Regions from separate parts of the Homo sapiens genome. Here region 1 is linked to region 2. The links are contacts of gene promoters, found by promoter capture Hi-C in human tissues and cell types (Jung and others, 2019). All regions are on one chromosome and are shown on one strand. The core of a region is centred on a gene start or on the middle of the fragment in contact, and the rest is flanking DNA. Distances in the headings are between cores, read along the strand shown. Region 1 overlaps TANGO6 (transport and golgi organization 6 homolog). Region 2 holds the start of HAS3 (hyaluronan synthase 3).

The links. Contacts are between HindIII fragments. The study calls those that stand out against the background at their distance.
Region 1: a fragment that was not itself captured here is called in contact with the fragment with the promoter of HAS3 in region 2 in 1 of the 25 tissues and cell types used here (mesenchymal stem cells).

Annotation. Positions count from the first base shown.
Region 1 is chr16:69,065,251-69,069,880 of GRCh38, reverse strand. The region is part of intron 17 of TANGO6 (transport and golgi organization 6 homolog); the gene reads right to left. Among named protein-coding and RNA genes, the nearest start is that of HAS3, 38 kb to the left of the region's middle. The HindIII fragment of the contact is 7,887 bases long and covers 1-4,630 here.
Region 2 is chr16:69,103,716-69,108,656 of GRCh38, reverse strand. It overlaps HAS3 (hyaluronan synthase 3), which reads right to left and starts at 3,004. Exons shown (of 4, transcript NM_001199280.2): 1 at 2,870-3,004. RefSeq lists a silencer at 2,378-2,657 and an enhancer at 2,791-3,339. The HindIII fragment of the contact is 9,378 bases long and covers 127-4,941 here.

The sequences.
Region 1 (4,630 bases), core at 465-2,964, 37 kb after region 2:
GGACTCGCCCTGAATTCTTTCTTGCGCGAGATCCAAGATCCCTTTCTTGGGGTCTGGAATGGAGACCCCTTTCCTTGTAACAGTTGTATTTAGAAATTCAATATTCTATAGAAACAAGAGATGAAGCAAACAAAGATCAAAAAGAAAGAAGGCTACATTCCACACAATCCTATCAACCACCAATTGTGACTCCCTTTGTGGTTGAGAAATAAATAAGAGGCACAAAGACAAAAACAGAGGAATAACACGCAAGTTATACACCGAAATAATAAGACAGGTGAAGACAGGGGAAAGAGGTGAACTGGAGCTGGTGGCTGGAGATTGTCCTGGCAGAAAAAAAGATTCTCTAGATTGAGGTCCAGAAGAGAAGACTCCAGAATCCGACTAGTTCTGTTTAAAAACATGTTGGAATAAGCATTAGGTGTGGTATGAATCTGTCAGAAAGCAACAGTCCAACTTCTAAGCACCTTCATCTTGCCCAAGATGTGATTTTGTGGCTAAGAGATGTGAGAGGGAACAGATGAGACTATTACGGGGCAGAGAGTCAAGAATTGTCAGTAGAGAACAACTCAGCAAAATTTCCCACATTGTGTGCAGGAGACTAGGCTAAGTATTCTGCTGAATGGCTCCCACACCCAGGAGCTCACACCCTGTTGGGGAGGCAGACACACAGAATTAAGCCTAATGGTCAGGAGGCAGGCAAACTGAGTGAAGTGGACCCTAGAGCTCCCAATTATTAGCTAGGGAATCTTGAACAAACTACTTCACTTCTAGGAACCCCAGTGATCTCGTCTATAAAATGGGAATAAGTTTGCCTCCTGAAGGTTGCAATAAGAATTAATGTATCTAAAGATCCAAAAACATGGCTGGGTACGGTGGCTCATGCCTGTAATCCCAGCACTGTGGCAGGCTGAGGCGGGTGGATCACCTGAGGTCAGGAGTTCGAGACCAGCCTGGCCAACATGGCAAAACCCCTTCTCTACTAAAAATAGGAAAAAAATTACCTGGGCGTGGTGGCGGGCACCTGTAATCCCAGCTACACGGGAGGCTGAGGCAGAAGAATTGCTTGAATCTGGGAGGCGGAGGTTGCAGTGAGCCAAGATGGCGTCACCGCACTCCAGCCTGGGCGACAAGAGCGAGACTCCATCTCAAAACAACAACAAAAACAAAGATCCAAGCACAAGGAATTGCAAATGGTGGGTGCTAAAGAAGTGATGGTTTGTCAGTGAAGACTGTGACCTCTGTGAGGGCCAGGACTATGTCCATCCTGTAACTCTTACATCACTGAGGCCTGGAAGAGAGCCTAACATGCAGTAAATCTTTGAAGAATGAATGAATGGCAACGGTAGCTAATCCTTACATAGTACTTGGTATATGCCAGGTATGATTCCAGGCATTTTGTCTACATTAACTCAATCCCCACAACACAATTATCATTTCCAATTTGCCCAGGTTCACACAGCTAGTAATGGGTAGATCCAGGATTCAAACCCTGGTAGCCTGACTCCAGAGTAGTGTTCTTTATTAATCACTATACTGTACCGTCTCTCAAAGCGGTTTTTATTATGACTATTACTATTATTGAGACAGAGTCTCTCTGTACCCAGGCTGGGGTACAGTGGCACGATCATAGCTCACTGCATGCAGCCTTGAAGCTCAGGTGATCCTCCTGCCTCAGGCTCCCAAGCAGTTGGGACTATAGGTGTGCATCACCATGCTCAGGTAATTTTTTTTTTTTCAAGACAAGAGTCTTGCTCTGTTGCCCAGGCTGGAGTGCAGTGGTGTGATCTTGGCTCACCGCAACCTCTGCCTCCCAGATTCAAGCAATTCTTCTGCCTCAGCCTCCCGAGTAGCTGGGACTACAGGCATGTGCCACCATGCCTGGCTAATTTTTGTATTTTTAGTAGAGATGGGGTTTATTTTCTTTTTTTTTTTTTTTTTTTGAGACAGAGTTTCACTCTTGTTGTCCAGGCTGGAGTGCAGTGGTGCAATCTTGGCTCACCACAACCTCCGCCTCCTGGGTTCAAGCAATTCTCCTGCCTCAGCCTCCCGAGTAGCTGGGATTACAGTCATGTGCCACCACACCCAGCTAATTTTGTATTTTTAGTAGAGACAGGGTTTCTCCATGTTGGTCAGGCTGGTCTTGAACTCCCAACTTCAAGTGATCCGCCCGCCTCGGCCTCCCAAAGTGCTGGGATTAGAGGCATGAGCCACTGTGCCCGGCCAGTAGAGACAGGGTTTCACCATGTTGCCCAGGCTGGTCTCCAACTCCTGACCTCATGATCCGCCCGCCTTGGCCTCCCAAAGTGCTGGGATTATAGGCGTGTGCCACGGCGCCCAGCGTTTTTTTTTTTTTTTTTTTGAGATGGAGTTTTGCTCTTGTTGCCTAGGCTGGAGTTCAGTGGCGCAATCTTGGCTCACTGCAACCTTCACCTCCCAGGTCTCCAGGTTCAAGCGATTCTCCTGCCTCAGCCTCCTGAGTAGCTGGGATTACAGGCACCCGCCAACACGCCTGGCTAATTTTTTGTATTTTTAGTAGAGATGGGGTTTCACCATGTTGGCCAGGATGGTCTCGAATGCCTGACCTCAGGTGATCCACCCGTCTTGGCCTCCCAAAGTGCTGGGATAACAGGCATGAGCCACCGTGCCCAGCCTCAGCTAATAAAAAAAAAATTTTTTTTGTAGGCCAGGCACAGTAGCTCATACCTATGATCCCGGCACTTCGGGAGGTAAAGGTGAGAGGATTGCTTGAGCCCAGGAGTTTGAGGCCAGCCTGAGCAACACAGCAAGACCCTTTGTCTACAAGAAATAATAGAATTAGTCGGGCATGGTGTCACGCATTTGTGGTCCCAGCTACTTGGGAAGCTGAGGAGGGAAGATCACTTGAGCCTGGGTGGTTGAGGCTATACTGAGCCGTGATTGCACCACTGCATTCCAGCCAGGGTAACGAAGCAAGAAAGACCCTATCTCAAAAACAAAAACAAATTTTTTGTAGAGACGGGGTCTTGATATTTTGCCGAGGCTTGTCTTAAACTCCTGGCCTCAAGCAATCCCCCCACCTCAGCCTCTCAAAGTGGTTATTATTTTCACTACCATGGAGTGGGAGGCATAAGGCACATATAACCACCTACCTTACGAGTATATTGTGGGGATCAAAAAAGATAATGTATGTGAGAGTATTTCACTATCATCAGCAAAGTGATAAATAATTCAAAGTATTGTTATTATTACCACCACATTAAGAAAATTGGGTTTACCACCAAGGAATAAGAATAGGAGGGGAAGTCCGGGCGCGGTGGCTTATGCCTGTAATCCCAGCACTTTGGGAGGCCAAGGTGGGCAGATCACTTTAGGTCAGGAGTTCAAGACCAGCCTGGCCAACATGGTGAAACCCTGTCTCTACTAAAAATACAAAAAAACTAGCCGGGCATTGTGGTGTGTGCCTGTAATCCCAGCTACTTGGGAAGCTGAGGCCAGAGAACTGCTTGAACCTGGGAGGCAGAGGTTGCAGCGAGCCAAGATCACGCCATTGCACTCCAACCTGGGCAACAGAGCGAGACGCCATCTCAAAATAAATAAATAAATAAACAAATGAATGAATGAATGAATAGGAGGGGGAAAGGCACAGCTCTGAAAACAAAGACTAGAGAGGAGAAGCCAAAGGCAGAGTGGCTGGGCAGATGAATAAATGAAGGCGAGTGAGAGGAAGAGGGAGGTGGCGTAGATGCGGGGAAATGAATTTAATGTAGTCTGAACACAGTATCAGGCCAGCGCAGGTCAGATGATGTTGGTAGCTGGCACACTGGAAGCTCTGATCAAGCTATGCTGCAGAATGGAAAGCATCAGGAAGAATTCTGCCGGGGAAGCAGAAAGGGGCCAGACTCCAAGGTCTTTGAGGCGAGTGGCCTCTCTAAGATAATGGGCAGGAAACAAATAAATTGGGGAAGCAGAATGGACACAGACAATCTGGACCTCATTCAGGAGCTCTGGACTGAAGAAGAATAATGCTTTCCTGATAAAACCCAAACTTTCACTTTGATGGGTCTATGAAAAAGAAATTAGGGCCAATTCAAACCTGAAAGACCAGGCTTTTGAGACACTTCACTGAAAGCGTCAGGACGGTCAGTAAAGAAAGGCAGGATTACTAATGTCTAAGAGATTTCTACCCATGCCTGACAGATAGAAAATCTCAAACACACTGAAGTTCACAGTGGCATTATTATTAACTGGAGGTTACTGAGCTTTTCAAAAACCTTTTATTTTAAGAGTATTTTTCTCTGCTAGACCTAGAGATAAATGGCACTTTTACCCTTTCTGGCTACTAAATGAGGAGAGCATCTAAAGTGCAAATTGGAGATGGGGTGGAAAGGAGATGAGGCGGGTATCATGTGTGGTTTTTCCTGAGAAAAAGGGAGAAATATTTAACTGGTCAAGTGCCAAAAATGCTACAGGGACATGGACAGTTTAGGTTGTTTAGGGACAAAGACCAAGATGGTGGGTAGCAGTTAACCCTTGGGAGGGATGATAGCTCAGGAGTCCTAAACAAAAAATAGGCGGTCAGAACTCCCAACACCTAACTGTGTGTGCTCCCTGGCTGGCTTATGCTGAGGCATGCTGCCCAAGGGCTGGA
Region 2 (4,941 bases), core at 1,755-4,254:
GGGCTGAAGAAAGCACAGGGAACTGCAGCCACCACTGCAGCAGCCTCCACAGTGGCTGCCTGGGCATCCCATCCGCTTGGTCCTAGTGCCCGTGCAGCATGCGTCTCTGTGCGTGTCCCCCTGCCCAGCCACTCCTGGAAACAATGCCCGGTTTCCATTTGCAACTAAGTCAGGGCTCCTAACATCTCCCCTGTTGGAAACAGCTGTATTTTATAACAGCCCAGGACTTGGCACTAGAGAATTGGGTTTAAGACAGCACTTCTGCCTCCTGGCTGCCTGACCTTGCCCCAGTTCTCTGAGACTTGGTCTCCCCATAGCACAATGGGAGTTCTAATGGATTCCTGCCTCATGTCTCAGGTAAGTCATTTCCCTAAAAATGGAAACACTTCCGGCCCCGAAGAGCTACCCTAGTGGTGAGGGTGACTGTGGTTTCCTCCAGAGCAGGTGGGGAGGGGGATGTGAGGGAGGGGAAAGAAAAGGTGGCAAGGATGGCTGCCGGCCTTCCCATTCTGACCCACACTATCTCCTCTCTGCCACCTGCCTGATCTAGAGAACCCCATGTTCACTGAGGTCTACAGACAATGATGCCTCGCTTCCAAGCTTGCTCCAACTCTTAGGTCTCAGGAAACGGAGCCCCCAAAACAAACACACTTTCCTGTCGGGACGCCTCTCACGTAGAAGGGACGAAGAACACGCAGTCACTGCCTAAATCGACCTGAGACTCCGGCACTAGCAGCCTTCCAGCAGCGTTGGCCCGAAAAGAGCTGCTGGCAGCCTAGCCTCTCCGGGAAGCGCGGCCTCCGGGCGCTCTGCCCCACCGTCCCGGGGAGCCCGCCGTGTGCTTCCTTCACAGGACTCCCAGCCCTCCCTGTTGCCACCCTACTGCTCGCGCCTGCGGCCCAGGAGTCCCCAGGCCTGCATCCGCAGCCTAGGAGCGCCCCCATTCCCCTCCGGAGCTTACATGCTGAAGGGGCGCGGCGGGACCCCCCTGCCTGCCTGCGCTCTGGGTAGGGGAAGGGGGCGCCAAGGCCAGCCCAGCAACCTGGGCGCTGGCGCCCCGCCTCGGTGCAGTGCCGGAGGCGGCGCCCACCAGGTCAAAGCAGCCGCGAACGCACTCGCCACGCTTCTCATCCCCGCTCGAGCCTCGCCTCTTGGCAAAGGCGGCGCCGGCCACACCCACGTGCCGCTTTCCCACGACCCAACCGGGAAGGAACGGAAAACCCAAGGGATCCCAGTCGGACCAGGCCCTGCTCTTCCTGGTACCCCAGCTACCTTGGCAAAGTGTGCCTGTAGACAAAGGCGCATCCCCGGTGTAGCCGGCCCTCTCCTTCCCTGGGCGGGACCCCTCCCCCGCAGGAATTAGAGGCATTACCCAGGTTACTACCCCCACCCCCAAATAGAGGCCCCCAAAATGTCCCTCAGCCAGATACCCCACGTGCAATCAGGCGCTGGTGCAGGCTGTGGTCGAGGTTCTCCTGCCCAGACCTGGGGCGGGGGGCTGTGTCACCCCAAGCCGGCAGAGGCTGTGGGGTGATCCTACAGCCTGGACCGCCGCCTCCTCATGCCCTTCGCTCATCCACGGGAGCCCAGCCCAGGCAAACTAACGCGCACTCGGCTTTCAAGGGCACAAGGTTGGGGGCGCTCTCAAGTCCGGCTCCCAGGACTACGGAAGGAGAACCCCCAGTCAAGGACGCACGCTTCTCCATCAAGCCTCCGAAACTTTGAGGGGCTGCTGGTGTGCAGCGTCTCTCCCGCTGACAGGTGCGCCCCGCGGCAGGGCCACACGCAGCGGCATGGAAACTTGTGCGCCCAACGGGGCTCCTCCTCTTGTGCCCGGCCGCCCTCCGGGCCCCTCCAGGCCGGCCAGGGGAGGGGAGCCCACTCCCCCGGACACGTGCTGCCGCGGCCCGGCTAACCCGCAGGAACGTGGGCGCCTGGTACCTTGGTGCCCGGACAGGTGCAAACCCCCGGGAGGTCGTAGAAGGTGCGGGGGAGGGGTACCCCAGCCAGCCTGGAGCCCCGCACCGGCGTCCGCCTCCTAATTCATTCACAAAACAGGAGCCGCCGGGGAGGAGGGAGGCGAGGCTGGAAGAGGAGAGGATGCAGGAAGAAAGGGAGGAGGGGTCAGTGGGGAGGGGGCTGCAGGAACGGCCGCCGGGAAGCCCGGGGCTGCCGCCGCCCCCAACCCGCCTCCCCGCGCCGGACGCGGCGCCCGCAGGGCTGGGAGCTGGCCGGGTGCGGGGGGCTCGGCGAGAGGCACCCCTGCCACCCGGCGCGCCCCGGCCTCGGCGCAGCCCCGCGCGGCCCTCCCCTCCTGGGTGCCGGCCGGCCCGCGCTCACCGTGCCGCCGGCTGCCGCGCTCCGGAGCTCAGCAGGCCCGCGGCGGCTCCATGCCCCTCCTCCCGCTCCGCTCCGCGCCGCCGCGCGCTCCGACTGCCGCCTGCCCAGCCGAGCCGCCCTTAAGTACCCGGCGCGTGCCCGCCAGGAGAGGCGCCTCCCCCGGCCCTGGGGCCGGGAAAGTTGACCAGAGTGGGAGGGCCCCCGCGGGCGCACCCCCGACCCCGCGCGGTCCCAGGGAGCGCCACAAGCCAGCGCTCGGCGGGGACGCCTAGTCCCGGGTGGACGCGGCTCCGGCTCGCAAGACTCGCAGCCCCTGCGCCCTCTCCGAAGCTGGGTCCCCCGAGTGGGGCCGAAGGCCACGCGGCTCTGCAATCGCCCTGGGACCAGCTGCCAAGGCAAGACGGTCATTGGGCTCAACCTAGAACCTGAAGCGTCGTTAACTTTCCAGATACCACGCAGGGACTTCCAAAATTGTTACTCTCCCTCCCCGCCCCCACGCCCCGCTCTCTAACCCGCAAAACCTACTCACCCTGCAAGGAAGGCGAGCTGAGAGCACTCTTCCCCGACTTCTGCACGCGAAGGGGCAGTTCGCTGTCTAGGGGGCTCCCGAAAGCCAAGGCAGCAAAACCTTCCTGCTGGCAGGAAAGAGGCGCTGAAGAGAATTGTCAAATGTAAAAAGGCTGGTCAAAGAAGGTGTTAACAATTGTGACAGCTTAGCTTTGAATTCCGCAGTGGGGCGCTGATGACTTTAAGGCGGTTTGCAAAAGCTGCAAACGGTTTTGTAGGAACCTTGGAGGTTCCGGTGTCTTAAAGCCAAAACAATTCCTCCTCTTCTTTTTCACACCTTTATTTCCGACATCCATGACCTCCTAAATTCCCAACTGACCTTATCGACAGTAGTTTTCAGGTCCCTAAAAGATAGTGCTAGACTCGAGTAAAGTGAGATGAAGTGAGTTGGGGTGCACTGGGGTGGGGTGAGATCGAGGAGGGGGGAGAGTTGTTAGCAGAGACAAGAAGTTTAGAACCAGCTGAAGGCGATGAGTTTTTACATCTCAGGAAAACTTGAAGAGAAATTATAATTAATAACTAGTTTTTAAAAAATGAGTGGCCGGGCGCCGTGGCTCAAGCCTGTAATCTCAGCACTTTCGGCGTTACGGGCACCATGCCCGTAATCCCAGCTACTCGGGAGGCTGAGGCAGGAGAATCGCTTGAACCCCGCAGGTGGAGGTTGCAGTGAGCTGAAATCGCACCACTGCACTCCAGCTTGGGCAGCAGAGCGAGACTCCGTCTCCAAAAAAAAAAAAAAAAAAAAAAAAAAAAAAAACCAAAAAACAGAGTTTACCTGTTTTCCAAATACACCTGATATAATTTCTATCACTTCTTCCCAAGCTGCAACAAATTTATAGGCACCTGAGCTGCAGTCTATAAACTTCTCCTCTCGCAAGTTTTAGGGGCTCAGGGACTTGCCTGCCCACCATTGCTCAGTCTGGGCCACAGACCTCACACCTCAGTCCCCGCAGGCAAGCAAAGACCCCAGGCACACCTACTCCACACAATCCCATCTTACATTATTGGCCAGGCACAGTGGCTCACACCTGTAGTCCCAGCACTTTGGGAGGCTGAAGATGGAGGATCGCTTGAGGCCAGGAGTTCAAGACCAGCCTGGGCAACAAAGCGAGACTTCCCCCGTCTCTACAAAAATTAAAATTAAAAAATTAGCCAGGGCCGGGTGCAGGCTCACGCCTGTAATCCCAACACTCTGGGAGGCCGAGGTGGGCGGATCACGAGGTCAGAAGTTAGAGACCAGCCTGGCTAATATGGTGAAACCCTATCTCTACTAAAAAATACAAAAATTAGCCAGGCATGGTGGCACGTGCCTGTAGTCCCAGCCACTGGGAAGGTTGAGGCAGAAGAATCGCTTAAACCCAGGAGACAGAGGTTGCAGTGGGCCAAGATTATGCCACTGTACTCCAGCCTGGGCGACAGAGTGAGACTCCATCTCAAAAAATAAAAATAAAAAAAAAAAGAAAAAGAAAAGAAAAGAAAAAAAAAAAAAACATTAGCCAGGCATGGTGGAGTGTGCCTGTAGTCCCAGCTACTAGGGAGGCTGAGGCAGGAGAATTGCTTGAGCCCAGGAGGTCAAGGCAACAGTGAGCTATGATCGAACCACTACACTCCAGCCTGGGTAACAGAACAAGACGCTGTCTCAAAAACAAATTCCTGGACTCCAGCAGCCCTTCCGCCTCAGCCTCCCTAGGAGCTAGTCCTATAGGCATGCTATCCAGCCCAGCTGCCAATGTGTTTTGAACTTCAGATGGCCTGAGGGGCCCTACCAGAGCCATTCCTACTTACACAAAGATGGAGAAGAAGCCTTAGGTTGGTGGAGGGGAGGGCTCTAGAGTCTGCCAGTAAGCCCCAGTGTCTTCATCCCACAGATGGGATTGCTAGGCGGACTGATAGGAAGTTTGAAGAGATTGGCTGAGGGTAAGCGCTCAGCAAGTGTTAGTAAACCAGACAGCAGCATCCTTTGCCCATGCCACGGGTTCTACATGGCCATCCCTCTAGAGCACTCAGTGACAGCAAGTTCAAGGATCAGTGTTT